Linked DNA regions of Homo sapiens: region 1 is linked to region 2. Evidence: promoter capture Hi-C in 16 types of primary human blood cells and fetal thymus (Javierre and others, 2016). All regions are on one chromosome and are shown on one strand. Each heading gives the region's core, a stretch centred on a gene start or on the middle of the fragment in contact. The rest is flanking DNA. Distances are from core to core; before and after follow the strand shown. Region 1 overlaps PSMD11 (proteasome 26S subunit, non-ATPase 11). Region 2 holds the start of MYO1D (myosin ID).

Region 1 (3,372 bases), core at 87-2,586, 400 kb after region 2:
TTGTTGTCCACTTTTTCAAACCTCTCCTTAACCCTTCCTTCCTCATTCTGGGTGGCTCAGTTGGCTGTTACTGGCTGATCTGTAAGCTATTTCCTGACCCTCTGTCCTGTGCTCTGCACCTATGAGGACAGAATATTTAAAGGATGAGGAGAATTCTCCAAGAGGAGCTGGGAAGGGGATTTCTAAAATGTCTGCCTGATTCTGAAAGACTAGCAAGCGAAAGTTTTCTGGACCACTTTTGATCCTCCCGCTCTACCTTAGCCAGCCCTAGAGGCCGCAGCTGCTGCTGTTTCTGTAACTGGCCAAACTCCCTGCTCAGGCCATCTCTGCCATGGCAAACAGACTTGCTGAAGGATCTGAGTTCTTGTAGTCCAGAGTTAAGGTGCACCTACGTGTTGAGCATGATTTTGCACAGCAACATGTACTTCAGAGATGTGATGGCCTTGGGGCTGTCGATGGAGTCATAACCCTCAAATGCCTCATAGAAGTATGAGTACGCAGTTTTCCAGTCCTTCTCTTCTGCTGCATGGATAATACCTGGGCATTGAAAAGAAAGGAATAAGAACATATAAAATAATAGAGCCATAAAAGATCAGAGCTGGGAGGCAGCTTAGACATCTACCTAAATGGGCACGGTGGCTCACACCTGTAAATCCACACTTTGGGAGGCTGAGATGGGAGGATCATGTGAGCCCAGGAGTTCGAGACAAGCCTGAGTAACATAGTAAGACCCCATCTCTTGAAAAAAAAAAAAATGCTGGGCACGGTTTCAGCTCACGCCTATAATCCCAGCACTTTGGGAGGCTGAGGCAGGCGGATCACCTGAGGTCAGGAGCTCAAGATCAGACTGACCAACATGGACAAATCCCATCTCTACTAAAATTACAAAAAAAATTAGCTGGGTGTGGTAGCGCATGCCTGTAATCCCTGCTACTCGGGAGGCTGAGGAAGGAGAATCACTTCAACCCAGGAAGCGGAGGTTGCGGTGAGCCGAGATTGCGCCACTGCACTCCAGCCTGGGCAACAAGGGCAAACTTCCGTCTCAAAAAAAAAAAGCCAGGTGCAGGGGTTCACTCCTGTAATCTCGGCACTTTTGAGAGGCTGAGGCAGGAGGATAGCTTGAGCCCAAGAGTTTGAGCCTAAGTAACAGAGTTAGATGTTGTCTCTTTATTTTTTTTTTTGAGCCGAGTCTCACTCTGTCACTGAGGCTGGAGTGCAATGGCGCAATCTCAGCTCACGGCAACCTCCGCCTCGTGGGTTCAAGCAATTCTCCTGCCTCAGCCTCCCAAGTAGCTGGGATTACAGGCACCCACTACCACGCCCGGCTAATTTTTTGTATTTTTAGTAGAGACTGGTTTCACCGTATGTTCGCCAGGCTAGTCTTGAACTCCTGACCTCAAGTGATCCACCCGCCTCGGCTTCCCAAAGTGCTGGGATTACAGGTGTGAGCCACCACACCCAGCCGACCTTGTCTCTTAAAAAAAAAAAAAAAAAAGAAAAAGGCCGGGCATGGTGGCTCATGCCTGTAATCCCAGCACTTTGGGAGGCAGAAGCAGGAGGGTCATCTGAGGTCAGGATTTCAAGACCAGCCTGGCCAACATGGTAAAAACCTGTCTCTACTAAAAATACTAAACCAGCCAGGCATGGTGGCGGGCACCTGTAATCCCAGCTACTTGGGAGGCTGAGGCAGGAGAATCTCTTGAACCCAGGAGGTGGAGGTTGCAGTGAGCTGAGATCACGCCACAGCACTCCAACTTGGGCGACAGAGTGAGACTCCGTCTTAAAAAAAAAAAAAAGAGGTCAGGCACAGTGGCTCACGTCTGTAAACTCTAACGTCTATAATCCCAGCACTTTGGGAGGCCAAGGCAGCCAGATCACTTGAGGGTCAGGAGATCGAGATCAGCTTGGCCAACAAGGCAAAACGCCATCTCTACTAAAAATACAAAAATTAGCCGGCCTTGGTGGTACATGCCTGTAATCCCAGCTACTCAGGTGGCTGAGGCAGGAGAATCACTTGAATCCAGGAGGTAGAGGTTGCAGTGAGCCGAGGTCACGTCACTGCACTCCAGCCTGGGCAACAGAGCAAGACACTGTCTCAAAAAAAAAAAAAAACTCTACGTCAACTCCACCAACCTACTGATGAGGTCAGGAAAGGATAAAGAACCTGCTCTGCCAGGCACAGTGGCTCACATCTGTAATCTCAACACTTTGGGAGGCCAAGGCAGGTGGATCACCTGAACCTAGGAGCTCAAGACCAGCCTAGGCAACAGGGTGAAACCCCATCTCTACAAAAAATTAGCCAGGCGTGGTGGCACATGCCTGTAGCCCCAGCTACTTACTCATGAGACTGAGGTAGGAGGATCACGTGAGCCTGGGAGGCTGATGATAGCGATGGGAGCTGTGATAGCAAAAATGCACTGCAGCATGGGTGAAAAAGTGAGACCGTCTAAAAAAAAAAAAACCTGCCCAAAGTCACCATAGTCAGCAATTTGACAGCTGAGATTAGAAGATGAGAATCCAAGTCTCTGACCTCCCAGCTCAATGTCATATTGCCAATATAAGTTCCCAAAGGAGTTAGAGACTCAACTTAAAAGGGACCTGAAAAACACATACTGTACCATCTTTCTTCCATGCTTCTCACCACCATTCCAGTCCTGCTATCTTTTGGAGCCACAGGAAAAGGCCATGTTTACCCTCCATGACATCACATTCACAGGTCAGGGAGTTGACCTAAACATCTCTAGACTGCCTGAATGACCTGTTCTAATAATATTAACTACTTTAAGATAGCTTTTCTAAGCCTGATAGTTTTATATTTATGCAACTGTCATGGGGCATGGGAGAGGGAATCCAACATCTTATATTTTCATTTCAAATATTTATCATTTGTGGATGTGCTTTTGCCTAAATGCACTCAGTGTACAGCTTTCACATAATGCCAAATCCATGAACTTAATTATACATGGCTAAGCAGTATTTCTTCAGACTGATATACCATAGTTGACCTAACCAATCCCCTATTGCTTAGAAGTTGAGTTGCTCCCAATGAGCTTAACTTTGATTGAACCTGCTACTACTGCCAACCTATGCTATCACTTGGGATAACATAAAAATTAGTTCTTTCCAAGCTTGGGAGGCATCTAAACCCTAAAATTCTCTATTTGTGTATATTAGCTCTAACTCTGCCCCAGCCCTTTAAGAAGTTACAGACCTCAGCCCCATCCATTTGTTTACCACAACTGCTTCCCAACATCTTTCACATCGAGATACATGTAGAAAGTATTTAGCACACTAGAGTCAAAGGATGACGCTGCTGACACATGATCCAAAGAACTCAATACCAGCAGGAACCTTCTGACTTCACCATTTATT
Region 2 (3,243 bases), core at 601-3,100:
CATAGCTCCTAACCACTGTACAATTTCTGCAACTCTCTCATCATCTGCAAGCCGTGATGTTTCTTTTCCTGGTACCTGGGATTTTGCCCTAATTTTTAACACCTACAGAGCTCAGGGAACACACATATATAATTTACCAAAAGGTTTTGGGGTGTGGTCCCTGGATGCTCCAAAGTGCATACAGTTTGAGATTTCTTTCTTTCCTTCTTGAAGTTCAGTTCTGCTTATGTTAAAACATGCCAATACAAACATTAGGAATACAACCATACCCTATGCAATAACCTACTTAGCCACTGACCGACACCTCCACAAATGACCCAACCATAGGACAGTCCTACCTTATTCCAGAGCTTTTATTCCACAAATGAGGACACTGATATCGAGACAGGTGGATCTCCTCCTTCTGAAGGACAGCTGCTAACGGTAGTCAGATGCAACCCAGCTCTGCTGGTGCCAGGGATTGGGGTGGTTTTCTGATGGCAGAGGCAGTCCCTCAGGAGGTGACAAAGCTCCTTTCCTTTCTCTTAGCAAGTGTGGGTGGCTGGCAGCTGAAGCAGGCCTTGGGCAAGGTCCTTCAGTCTGGTTTACTCATCTCAAACTCAGCCAGAGTTGAAGCCCAGCCAGGTCCTTGGAGGCCTCTAGATTTCCTCGTAGATTTTGTAATAGAAGATGTCCTAACAGAAACACAGGACTGAATAAATGTAGATACCTTAGAAAGTCATTTATTTAAAAAAAATAGCTGGGCATGGTGTCATACACCTGTAGTCCCAGCTGCTCAGGAGGCTGAGGCTGGAGGATTGCTTGAGCCCAGGAGTTTGAGGTTGCAGTGAGCTGTGATTGCACCACTGCACTCCAGCCTGGGTGACAGAGGGAGAATTTGTCTCCAGAAAAAGAAAAAAAAAAAAAAAAGAAAGAAAGTCATTTGTAGTATATTTTCTTTGGGAAAATACATTGAGTTCAAAAAGAATTTTCCAAGCTCAACCAATGTATCAATAAATTGGAGACTACTTACAACTCACTTCATTCCACTGAACCAGTATGGATTTCATATTTATATATGCAAAGTAGTACAATAGTTATTTGGTGGATGCAAAAAGAATGGTCCCATGCTCAAGACATCCGCAATAATCCTGGAGAGATGATACAAAGATATATTAAAAACTTAATAATCATATAAGGTAATGTCTGATGACATGCTCGGATGAGTGGAAGAGAAAATGGGCCACTGAAGAATGGAGGTAGTCAGACGTGGTTGAACGCTGCGGCTCCTAAGTCAAATGACCTGCGTGAAACCGCAGCTGCTCCACTTCCTAGTCGTATGGCAAGTTTCTTAAAAGTTCTCTAAGGCGCTGAGAACAGCTCTGGGCATTTTTGGTGCCCCAAAAATGTTAGCCATTATTATTACCTCTCAGTCTGTGCTTGAACCACCACTTCAAGAATGGGCAGGGTGTGAGTAGAGAGGCGGGAGTGGGTTTTGGAGCAGGGTGACAGAATCATAATGAATTGTCCTCGCGAAAAGCTCCACGAACTACTTTTCTAACTTTGTTGGCAGCTACCAAGTGTGGGCGGCAGGCGGCCATCCTCTTGGCCGCCTGAGATCCCAGCGCCTGTCCCCAGGGGGCGCTGCCACCCAGCTGCCGCCGCCCGGCCCAGCGCGCGTCCCCGCCGCCCACCCGCGCGTGCGCGCCGCCCAGGTGAAGAGGCGGCGGCCAGGGCCGCGGCTGGGGCGGGCTCCTCAGTGGGCCGGGAGGGGCGGAGCCGGGAGGCCCGGGCGGGGCGGAGCCGGGACGAGCCCCAGGCTGGAGGCGGGACCAGCCGCTGCCGTCTCCGTCTCGGTGTCCCGGCCCCTACAGCGCCCGGCAGCCGCGGCGGGAGGAGCGGAAACTGTCGGGTGCGTCCCGTTCGGAGCCGCGCCGGCCGAGAAGGCGCCGAGGAGCAGCGAGGCGGCCTCTGTCCGGCCCGGACCCGCCGAGCGGCGTGCGCGCCCCCTCCCCGTAGCCTCGCGGCGCGGCCTCGCCCCGGCCCCTCCCGAGCTCATCGCGGGCCCACGGAGCGGCCCCGGAGGCCCGAGCGCGCCCACCTGAGCCCCCGCGCTGGCGCCATGGCGGAGCAGGAGAGCCTGGAATTCGGCAAGGCAGACTTCGTGCTGATGGACACCGTCTCCATGCCCGAGTTCATGGCCAACCTCAGGCTCAGGTGAGGGCGGAGCGGCCGCGCGCAGGGGCGCGAGGCTGCGCTTTCCCGAGAGGGGGCGCCTCGGGGCGCGGCCGGATCCGGGGTGTCGGGAGCGCCCAAGCTCCAGGGATGGAGGCGCGGCCGGGCTGCGGTGTCCGGGGGTCTGCCAAGCTCCGCGGCTGCGCTTTCCCGAGAGCGGACGCCCCTGGGGTGCGGCCGCTTTGGGGTGCGGGGGGCGTGTCGAGCTCAAGGGCCGCGCTTCCCTGAGAGGGGAGCCCTGGGCGCTGTCCGGGGTTTAGGTGCAGAGGGTGTGCCGCGCGGGAGGGCGCGCTTCCCCGCGCCAGGTGAGGGATGTGGGCGGGCCGGTGACCTCATGGAAACTGAAGGGAAATAACTTGAACGAGAGTTGCGGTGGCCCCGAAGGCCCTAGGAGGACTGGAGGATTATTTTGGAGAGAGGCTGGCGTCTCATCCCGGCTTTACACTTGCTTCTTTTCTTTCTTTCTTCGCCCTTCTTTTTTTTTTCCTCCTGGCGTAGTTCCATCCTGTCATTCAGGATGCTATGGAGTGATCCCTGAGCTGTCTGTTCCGGGACACTGGCTATTTTTTTAGTTACTCTCTAAACGTAATTAGACACGTTTCCAGACATCGAAGAGACTGCTGTACTTGCCAGTGCCAAGATAAACTGTCTGAATTTGACAAGACGTTCATGGTTTTGGTTTTTTTCAAGGAGTTAGTGGATGGAGCTCTTGTGTTATTAACATCCTTGAGAACGTAGTCACAACTCAACGCCCCAAAATGGGCTTCCAAGATGTGGATTTGTTTTAGAAAGCCCTTTACATGCGATTATTTCACCCTTGATAGAGTAATATGTAAACAGTTTTAAAGTAGTTTGACTTAAACATTAAAGTAAGTGGAATTTCAAAATAGCTGAGTTTTGGTGTGCGTGTGTATGTTTCCCTGCAAGCTTTGGCTGCATTTCTTCTAAGGTTTATAGCTAAACATCATTCCTTAAGCTTATAAAGTGAAAGTCATAATCTAGGCTTGGGTGCTTAACCCTAATTTCATT

Evidence for each region. The method cuts DNA at HindIII sites, captures the fragments that hold promoters and counts their contacts. A CHiCAGO score of 5 or more calls a contact.
Region 1: a fragment that was not itself captured here is called in contact with the fragment with the promoter of MYO1D in region 2 in 5 of 17 cell types (naive CD4 T cells, naive CD8 T cells, fetal thymus and 2 more); the score reaches 7.4 in naive CD4 T cells.

The regions. Positions count from the first base shown.
Region 1 is chr17:32,470,966-32,474,337 of GRCh38, reverse strand. PSMD11 (proteasome 26S subunit, non-ATPase 11) reads right to left here. Exons shown (of 14, transcript NM_002815.4): 7 at 393-537. Among named protein-coding and RNA genes, the nearest start is that of CDK5R1, 14 kb to the left of the region's middle. The HindIII fragment of the contact is 3,588 bases long and covers 1-3,130 here.
Region 2 is chr17:32,875,731-32,878,973 of GRCh38, reverse strand. MYO1D (myosin ID) reads left to right here and starts at 1,850. Exons shown (of 22, transcript NM_015194.3): 1 at 1,850-2,196. The coding sequence starts at 2,102. It overlaps MYO1D-DT (MYO1D divergent transcript), which reads right to left and starts at 2,119. Exons shown (of 4, transcript NR_184086.1): 1 at 2,081-2,119; 2 at 1,013-1,130; 3 at 339-674. RefSeq lists silencers at 2,131-2,318, 1,525-2,514. The HindIII fragment of the contact is 7,647 bases long and covers 1-3,143 here.